Linked DNA regions of Homo sapiens: region 1 is linked to region 2. The links are contacts of gene promoters, found by promoter capture Hi-C in blood cells and fetal thymus (Javierre and others, 2016). All regions are on one chromosome and are shown on one strand. The core of a region is centred on a gene start or on the middle of the fragment in contact, and the rest is flanking DNA. Distances in the headings are between cores, read along the strand shown. Region 1 has its middle 53 kb from the start of KIF13A. Region 2 holds the start of NHLRC1 (NHL repeat containing E3 ubiquitin protein ligase 1).

What was found. The method cuts DNA at HindIII sites, captures the fragments that hold promoters and counts their contacts. A CHiCAGO score of 5 or more calls a contact.
Region 1: a fragment that was not itself captured here is called in contact with the fragment with the promoter of NHLRC1 in region 2 in 1 of 17 cell types (megakaryocytes); the score reaches 5.8 in megakaryocytes.

Annotation. Positions count from the first base shown.
Region 1 is chr6:18,038,274-18,043,061 of GRCh38, forward strand. No RefSeq gene overlaps it. Among named protein-coding and RNA genes, the nearest start is that of KIF13A, 53 kb to the left of the region's middle. The HindIII fragment of the contact is 5,573 bases long and covers 1-4,788 here.
Region 2 is chr6:18,121,427-18,126,320 of GRCh38, forward strand. It overlaps NHLRC1 (NHL repeat containing E3 ubiquitin protein ligase 1), which reads right to left and starts at 1,251. Exons shown (of 1, transcript NM_198586.3): 1 at 1-1,251. The coding sequence starts at 1,180. The HindIII fragment of the contact is 6,107 bases long and covers 555-4,894 here.

The sequences.
Region 1 (4,788 bases), core at 1,159-3,658, 82 kb before region 2:
AGAAAATATTTGCTTACAATATATGTGTTAAGTAAATTATATCTAATATATAAAGAACTCTTACAACTTAATAAAAAGACAACCCTTTTTATTTTTGAGACAGGGTCTCACTGTTGCCCAGGCTGGAGTGCAGTGATGCAATCATAGTTCACTGTAACCTTGAACTCCTGGGCTCAAGTGATCCTCCTGTTTCAGCCTCTTGAATAGCTAGGGCTACAGGTACATGCCATCATGCCCAGCAATTTTTTTTTTTTTTTTGTAGAGACAGGGTCTCACTATGTTGCCCAAGCTGATCTTGAACTCCTTGCCTCAAGCCATCATCCAGCCTCAGACTCCCATAGTGATGAGTTTACAGGTGTAAGCCACTATGCCCAGCCCAGTTTCTTAAATGAGCAAAATATTTGAATAGAATTTTCTTCAAATAAATATGTAGGTTGGGCACGGGGCTCACGCCTGTAATCCCAGCACTTTGGGAGGCCGAAGCAGTGGATCACTTGAGGTAAGGGGTTTGAGACCAGCCTGGCCAACATGGTGAAACCCTGTCTCTACTAAAAATACAAAAAATTAGCCAGGCATAGTGGTGCACACCTCTAATCCCAGCTACTTGGGAGGCTGAGGCAGGAGAATTGCTTGAACCCAGGAGGCAGAGGCTGCAGTGACCTGAGATCATGCCATTGCACTTTAGCCTGGGCGACAGAGCGAGACTCTGTCTCAAGAGAGAGAAAAAAAAGAAATATACAAATGACTAATAAGCAATGAAAAAATGCTCAACATCATTAGTCATTAGGGAAATGCAAATCAAAACCCCAGTGAGAAACTACTGCATGAATTATTATAATCAAAAAGACAGGTAACAAGTGTTTGTGAGGATGTGAAGAAATTGGAGCCCTCATTCAGTGCTAGGGGGATTGTAAATAGTACAGCTACTTTGGAAAATTATTTGGCAGTTGCTTAAACAGTTAAGCATAAAGTTACCATATGACTCAGCATTTTTATTCTTATGAATATACCCAAGATAATTGAAAATACATGTCCTCACAAAAATGTGCACATGAATGTTCATAGCATTATTTGTAATAGTCAAAAAGTGAAAATAACCAAATGTTCATGAGTGAATAAACAAAATATGGTATATCCACACAATGGAATATTACTTGGCAATTAAAATAAATGAAGTACTAATACATGCTGACACACAGATCAATCTTGAAAGCATTATGTTAAGTGAAAGAAGCCAGACCTCAAAAGTCATGTATTATAATATTCCATTTATATGAAATGTCCAGAACAGACAAATCCATAGAGAGAGAAAATCGATTAGTGTTTGTTAGGGGCTGGAAGGGGTGGGAATAGTAGTAACTACTTATGAGTATTGGGTTTCTTTCTGGGGTGATGAAAGTGTTCTGGAATTAGATAGTGGTTATGATTGAACATTGTGAAAACACTAAAACCACATTGTGTATTTTAATTTGTATACTGTAAGAGGGCGAGTTTTATGGTATGTGAATTATATCTCAGTGAAGATGTCATTTAAAAATTATAGTGGTGGGAGGCCGAGGCAGGCAGATCACCTGAGGTCAGGAGTTTGAGACCAGCCTGGCCAACATGGTGAAACCCCATCTCTACTGAAAATACACAAATTAGCCAGGTGTAGTGGCACGCGCCTGTAATCCCAGCTATTTGGGAGGCTGAGGCATGAGAATCGCTTGAACCTGAGAGGCAGAGGTTGCAGTGAGCTGAGATCACACCACTGCACTCCAGCCTGAGGGAGAGAGTGAGACTCTGTCTCAAAGAAAAAAAAAATTATCTATCTATCTATAGTGGGACATCATCAGAATTAAGCAGAAGAATGGTATGATTTATGCTTTTAAAAAACGAGCTGCTATATGGGGTAGACTGGGGACCGAGGGAAAAGCAAGTGGAGACACCAGTCTGGAGATGGGAGCAGCAGTGAATGTGAAAAACCATGACGTCTAAGACTAATAACAGTGGTGGTGATGGAGACAAGGGGGAATAATTGAGATATATTTTGAAGGGTGAACCTACTGGATTACTTTTGGATTACACGTGGAGAGTGAGAGACTAGGAGGTATTAGGAATGATTCATAAGTTTCTAACTTGGACAACTAAATGGAGAGTGATATTCACCCTTTGAAAAAGTTCATTTTTGTTTCTCCAAAGCCCTATGAATAAGTCATACTCTAAACATTCAATAGATCAAGAAATCGAAGATTAAAAACTTGTTAGCCAGGTGCGGTGGCTCATGCCTGTAATCCTAGCACTTTGGGAGGCTAAGGCGGGTGGATTGCCTGAGCTCAGGAGTTCGACACCAGCCTGGGCAACATGGTGAAACTCCATTTCTACTAAAATACAAAAAATGGGCTGGGCGCAGTGGCTCACACCTGTAATCCCAGCACTTTGGGAGGCCGAGGCAGGCAGATCATGAGGTCAGGAGATCAAGACCATCTTGGCTAACACAGTGAAACCCCATCTCTACTAAAAAAATACAAAAAAATTAGCCAGGCGTGGTGGCAGGCGCCTGTAGTCCCAGCTATTGAGAAGCTGAGGTAGGAGAATGGCATGAACCCAAGAGGCTGAGCTTGCAGTGAGCCAAGATCGCACCACTGCACTCCAGCCTGGGCGACAGAGTGAGACTCTGTCTCAAAAAAAAAAAAAAAAAAACCCAAAAACACAACAACAACAACAACAAAACTTAGCCAGGTGTGGTGGCGTATACCTGTAGTCCCAGCTACTCAGCAGGCTGAGGAGAAGAATTGTTTGAACCTGGGAGGCAGAGGTTACAGTGAGCTGAGATCGCACCACTGCCCTCCAGCCTGGGCTACAGAGCTAGACTCTGTCCCTCCCACCAAAAAAAAAACCCAAAAGACAGTTGTTAAACCGTTAAACCAATTTCTTCCCAAATCAAACAGCTAGAAAGGAGGGGGATGTCAGAGTTGGGACTCCTTTCTAATATGGAAGTTCATGTGCTTTTCACTGAGCAATTTGTTCCTTGTGTTCTCTCTAATAGGCCTGAAGATGTGCATTACATTAAGAATTTACATTTAAGAATATAACATTTACAGAAGATAAAAAAAATTTTTTTAAATACACTGATGTACACTTTTTGCTTTAAAAAAAAAGATGGATATGCGGAAATTTGTAGCCTGATTGTTGACTAAGTTGAGGAATCTTTTGCTATGTAAGAAAATAAATTCCACAGTTCAGTGGGTTAGATACACAATTTTTGGATTTGACAGCTAAAATTATTTGTTCCCTCTGAATGCTGGTTTTTTTTTTTAAGTGCTTTTCTTGGCTTGGTATAACTGGCCTCTATTATTAATGTCCACATTCACTTTTGGACTAATATTTCATTCTTAGGCAAACCAATGTCATTAAAATAGAAGAAAGAGCTCTTATAGAGGCTCTACTCTGCTCCCCAGGTATCAAAGAAGGGCATCTTCAAGAGGGAAATTAGAGTGAGAATTCAGAGAATTGAAAAAGTGAGGAAAGTATAAGGGAAGAGTTTCTCAATCTTTTTTTTTTTTTTTTTTTTTTTTTTTTGAGATGGAGTTTCGCTCTTGTTGCCCAGGCTGGAGTGCAATGGCGCAATCTCAGCTCACTGCAACCTCCGCTTCCTGGTTCAAGTGATTCCTGCCTCAGCCTCCCAAGTAGCTGGGATTACAGGCACGTGCCACCACGTCTGGCTAATTTTTTGTATTTTTAGTAGCGATGGAGTTTCACCATGTTGGCCAGGCTGGTCTTGAACTCCTGACCTCAGGTGATCCACCTGCCTCAGCCTCCCAAAGTGTTGAGATTACAGGCGTGAGCCACCGTGCCTGGCCAGTTTCTCAATCTTTTTAAACCTTTGCCCTCTTAGATAAAACTGCACTTCAACTTCACACATGCTCCATCCTCACCCAGCTGAGATTCTGACATAGATTTCCAGGGTCATATCATCCTCAGTGGTTTGCTGCCAGCCAAGATTCATGAAACTTCACATTTGGCACTTTGTATTACTTTAAAATTTTCCAGTAGAAGTTTGTGTTAGGATATTTAACATGGCTTTTTGAATGACACTCCACCTCTGCCTCTCCAGTCCTGCAACAAAGAGAGCACTTCTCTTCCTTTGTCATTTTCCCTGTGGTCTCTTAGGACACGCTAGGTCCCCTGCTTCTCTTCTTATATCCTCTCCTCTCCCCAAGGGGAGTTTCTTCTGCATATTCATAGTTTCTGCTCCTTCTTTTCCTTGGCTTGGCCATCCTGGACACAAACCTAGTTGTGATGGCAGCACACTCCATGGAGCTGGTGAGAGCCCCACCCCTTCTGAGTTGGGACAGGAGCTCCCCGGGTGCTGCTATAGCCGCCCAATGCAGCTGCAGACCCAGGCCTCCTGCTCTACAGAGCAGGCAGGAACCCCACTCTCCTGGGTGGGGCTACAGGAACCCAAACTGTAGCTGTGGATTCATCTGAGCCTCCCTGTGCTCTTGGGGGAGGGCTGGCAGCAGGCAGGATCTGCCTTTCTGGGTGAGGGTGTGGCTGCAGCCACCCTCCTAGATGCGGGAGCCAGGTGTCTCTGCAGCCTGCACCCTCAGCAGCCCCAGGAAGGACCCCCTCCGCTGCCCTGAGCCACCCACTCCTCTGAGCTGTTCTAACACTAAATAAAACTCTTCTTCTCCACCCTGCGCTTGTCTGTGTACCTCATTCTTCCTAGATGCAGGGTGAGAACTCGGGCAAAGGTGCTTCGGCCGCAGAGGTTTCCCACCAGAAAAATTGACACCCCAGAGATCC
Region 2 (4,894 bases), core at 1-2,500:
AGTCAACTTTATAGACTTTTATAGAATGAGATGCTGTGTCCAGCACAAGAAGAGAATTCTCCTTGGTGAAGGTAAGAGCCACAGGATGCGAAAGACCATGAGTGACCATGGGCTTCGGTACTGGAAACTCCTCAGGTTTTCCTAAGCAAAGGATAGCTGGACCAGATGTATCTGCAACAATCACATTTCCCTGGTGATCAAAGGTCACAGCGGAGGCAGTTATTTTGGAGGGAAAGTAGAGGCTCAGCCCAAAGGTATCCACTTGGCCGACAAGCTGCATACTTGAGCTAAACACTTTCACCCTGGTGCTGCAAACCCCAGTCCCCAGGGCCAGGGGGTGCTCCAGGACCGCAATGGCCCCGGTGAGCCAAGACACTGCCACCCCTCGGGGATTGCACAGATGAGCTTGCAACCTTTCAGTTCTCCGAAGGACCCCTTCCGCGAAGTCGACGTCCAGGAGGTGCAGGGACCCTGCCTCCGCATCAGTTACCACAATCCCATTCTGAGGGGTGGTCTCCACACCCCAAGGTAAGGAGAATTGGCCTCCAATGACAAGCTTGATCTGGCCAAAAAAATCAAACACTTTGATGGAGCGATCGCCGGCGTCAGTGACAACCACATGGCAGTCGTTGGTGATGGTGACATCCACAGGGTACCTAATGTCTTGGGCAGCGTCCCCCTTCTCTCCAAACTGATGCGCGCATCCTCCCCCTGAGTCAAAAATCTTGACACGCCTCCTGCCGTCGTGCACCACCACGACACGCCCCGTCTTGGGACAAAGCGCCAGTCCGGTGGGGTTGACCAGGGTCCCCCAGCCGCCGAAGGTGTGGTGGCAGGTGAGGGCTCCGGGGGCGCTGGGGGCGGCGCGATGGGCGGCCGGGGACTGGCGAAGCGCTGAGCCCAGGAGCTCTATGAGGTGCAGCACCGGCAGGCAGTCGCTGGTGTCGCAGCCCCGGCAAGCTCGCCTGCAGAATGGGCACTCGAGGGCCAGAGTGCGCGGGTGCGCCAGGGCGGCCACGCAGGCCAGGCAGACCACGTGGCCGCAGGACAGGTTGCGCGGGCGCCGCTGCTGCCGGTGGCCAAACTTCTCAAAGCACACCTTGCACTCGAGCAGGCTGATCTCCGCCTCGCGCATGAGCTCATGCAGCGCTGGCCCGCTCTCCGAGGCTTCGGCCGCCATGGCGCGTCCTGTGCACTCCCGCCGCGCCGCCTGGCCGTGCCCCAGCGACGCTCTCGGTCACGGTCACAGTCATGGTCACGGGGTGGGACGTGCGCCCTGACGTCGAGCGCCGCGGGCCTCTGCACTGCGATCTGCTGCCCCTTGGTGGGCACGCGCGGCACTGTTTCCTGAGGGCCTGATGGTGGACGTTTGCAAGACAAATCCACATGCGCGTTGTGTAGACCTGTAATCGTCACAGCAGTCATGGATGGATTGTGTACACTTTCAGATGAGGAAACACACCTATTGAGGACAACAGGATTGCTCCCTGTCACCCAGCCTGTAAGCGGCAAAACAAGAACTAGAACCCAATCTTCCAGCCCGGGTGCCTAGCAGTGTCTCCAATCCGCAGCGCCGGGTGCTACGGCTGTCCGGGCATAAAACATGGTCCCTTAGCTCATGATGCTTATGATCTGAACCGGAAAACACGAACACACTAGAGAAGATAAACTCCAAGGGAGGTGAGGCAGATGTGTACATTTCTTTTGTGTCTTCTGTCATACTCATAGTTAAGTCAATGTTAGATGAATACATACTTGTAAAATGAATTTGTGCATGAATGAATGTTATAGAACAACAACAACAACAAAAAAAAATCAACGAGGTGAATGAGTGTCAGATGGGGCAACCATGCTGGAAGTGTCTTGCAGAGTAATTAATATGAAATAAGAAAGCTGTTAGTTAATAATAATTACCATAGAACTTCATTTTTTTGTTTTTTAAGACAAAGTCTCACTCTGTCACCCAGGCTGGAGTGCAGGGGCACGATCACAGCTCACTGCAGCCTCCATCTCCCAGGCTCAAGCAATCCTCCCACTTCAGTAGCTGGGACTACAGGCATGCACCATCACACTAGGCTAATTTTTTAATTTTTTTGTAGAGAGGAGGTCTCACTATGTTGCCTAGGCTGGTCTTGAACTTGTGAAAATTGTTCACATTCCTCCCCACCCCTTGGCCTCCCAAAGTGCTGGTGTGAGCCACTGTGCCCAGCCTATGGAATTCACATATGCCTGCCCCATTGTGTTAGGTTGGTGAAAAGGATTCGCAGTGTTTGCCATCACTTTTAATGGCAAAACCGTGATTACTTTTGCAGCAAATTAATAAATAATTTACATAGATTATCTTGTTTAAACCTCATAGCAATCCTACAAAAATATGTTATTTTTATTGTCTTTTTTTCTGATAGAATTCATAGAAATCAAATATCTTGCCCAGGGTCACATGGCTAGGAAGTGGCTGGCCTGGAATTTGAAGCCAGGCAGTTTGACTTCAGAGTTACCTATTTTAGTCATTTTCAAACTTCTTTGCACATGGTAAACACCTGGGTCGCACCCGAAAAGTTTAATTGGCCCATGGTGTGGTCTGGACAGCTGGGATTTATAAAAGCTCCCCAGGTGATTATAATGTACAGCCAAGTTTGAGAAACACTGCATTATAATAATTCCCTCAAATGACACTAAGTTCAGTTTTTCCAATCTCAGTTAAGACCAAAAACAAAGAGAATTTGCCATATGTTGGAAAATCTTCAAACAAGGGATAGCATAATCTGTGTGAAGAATCCATTGTGGTATTATAATCTCTCATTTTTCTTTTTCTTTCTTTTTTTTTTTTTTCTTTTTGAGACAGAGTCTTGCTCTGTCACCAGGCTGGAGTGCAGTGGCGCGATCTCGGCTCACTGCAGCCTCCACCTCCTGGGTTCAGGCGGTTCTCCCACCTCAGCCTCCTGAGTAGCTGGGATTACAGGCACCCGTGACCATGCCTGGCTAAGTTTTGTATTTTTAGTAGAGATGAGGTTTCACCATGTTGGCCAGGCTGGTCTCAAACTTCTGACCTTTCGCGTCAGCCTCCCAAAGTGCTAGGATTACAGGCATGAGCCACCGTGCCTGGCCCTAAACTCTTATTTTTAAGGGGTTCTCCCTCAAATGTCTTATGTGAACATTGTGCTTAACAAAACCTTGTATTAGAGAATTTCTTTTCCTTTAGAGATCATAATCATGAACATTCACCTTCTGATTTGCTAGATTTCTGAGAAAACACAATATTTTATCCCCTGTTGAGGCCCCTGGAAAGAGCTTTAATGTAAGACAAGAAAGAACATTTTCTAATCAAATGTCATTTGACTCAAAGATTGCGTACTGGGACACAATAACCAACTTAATAATTTCTGACTACATTTCCATCCCAAATAAACAACCAACTAAAATCACATTATTTATGCAATCACACCATTGCATAATTGATTAATAACAAATATGTCTTGAATCTCACTCTGACATTTGGCATTTCCTATGACTATCATTTCCTCCTCCATGGCTGGGCCTCCATGGATTTACCCTGTGCTTCCCTCCGATATTCCTTCTATAGAGGGTCCTGGACTAGCATGCCCATCTTTTCCTGCTTCCACCTAGAACAAGCCCTGAGAGTTGTGGGGGCAAAGGGCTTGAAGAGCAGAACGTCTAGTTTCCAAAGTGGTCAATGGCTGCCCTATGAAAAAGTACCATACTATAGTGGAAGGAGAGTGGGGACCCAGCTCAGGATGGTTCCAGCAGAGAAGAGAGCACAGGGGGAGCATGAGTTAGGGGGAGTCAGTGCTTAGACAGGTGGGCTCCTGGTTGTGCAGGTGGGGCAAATGTGCCAGACACATGCAGTTTAGAAGGAATCCCAGAACAAGTTTAATGATCCAATTACAACTCAGACTACCTGACAATGATGTAAGGGAAAGGAAGATGAACAAGCCACACAGAATGGGCTTTGCTTCCAGCCTTGCCCTCCTCCCAGGGGCGTCTCTGACCACCACTCTAATTTTTAAGCTCCATGTTCTTGGCATCTCAGGGGTGAGGGATGTGGTGGCAAGAGGAAGAATGGCTGTTTTTGAATTTTTTGAGTAAGTCCATACAAAAATGAGTGGAGATGTATGTTTGGAAATGGGGATCTAGAGATTTGAGTGCATCTCAAGTTCAATGCAATTGAGTGTTCCTCAGGGTGCCACCTTCAGTCTTTTTCTCTTAGCTTCCTACCTGTTTCCCTGAGCAATGCCATCTTCACTTCCTCGTGGTTTAAATGACCAGTTATAAGCTGACAGCTCCCTGCCTGTACCCCTAAGACAGCCATACCATATGAAGTTCAATGTTCAGTCCCTACCCCTACAACCTGTGATGCCTGAGAAAAGGATTATCTTCAATAATCAATAAACCTTTATCTGCTAGCACACCCAATAGTACTTAAATTGCTGAATGAATGCTGACTCTAATAGCAGGAGAAAGACTAAATAATAATTGTACTGCCACATTACAACATTATACAGCTATTTAAAAATCTTGCTTTTGAAAAATATTTAGTGACACTGTTACCAGTAGAAGGTTTGACTACAAGTTGTCCAGGTTCTTGGCTTTTTGAACAAAGAATTGGACAAAATGCACAGCAAAGCAGAGAAAGAATGAAGTAACAAAAGCAGAGATTTATTGAAAATGAAAGTGCTCCACAGGGTGGGACCTGGCTGAGCAGTGGCTCAAGGGCCCTGGTTACAGAATCTTCTGGGGTCCAAATACTGCCTAGAGGTTTCCCACTGGCCACTTGGTATTCATCCCATGCAAATAAAGTAGTGGCCCGCAATCAGTCTGATTGGTTGCTTTTGCTTGCTGCAACCAATGAGAGGCCGAAGTGAAGTTACAAAAG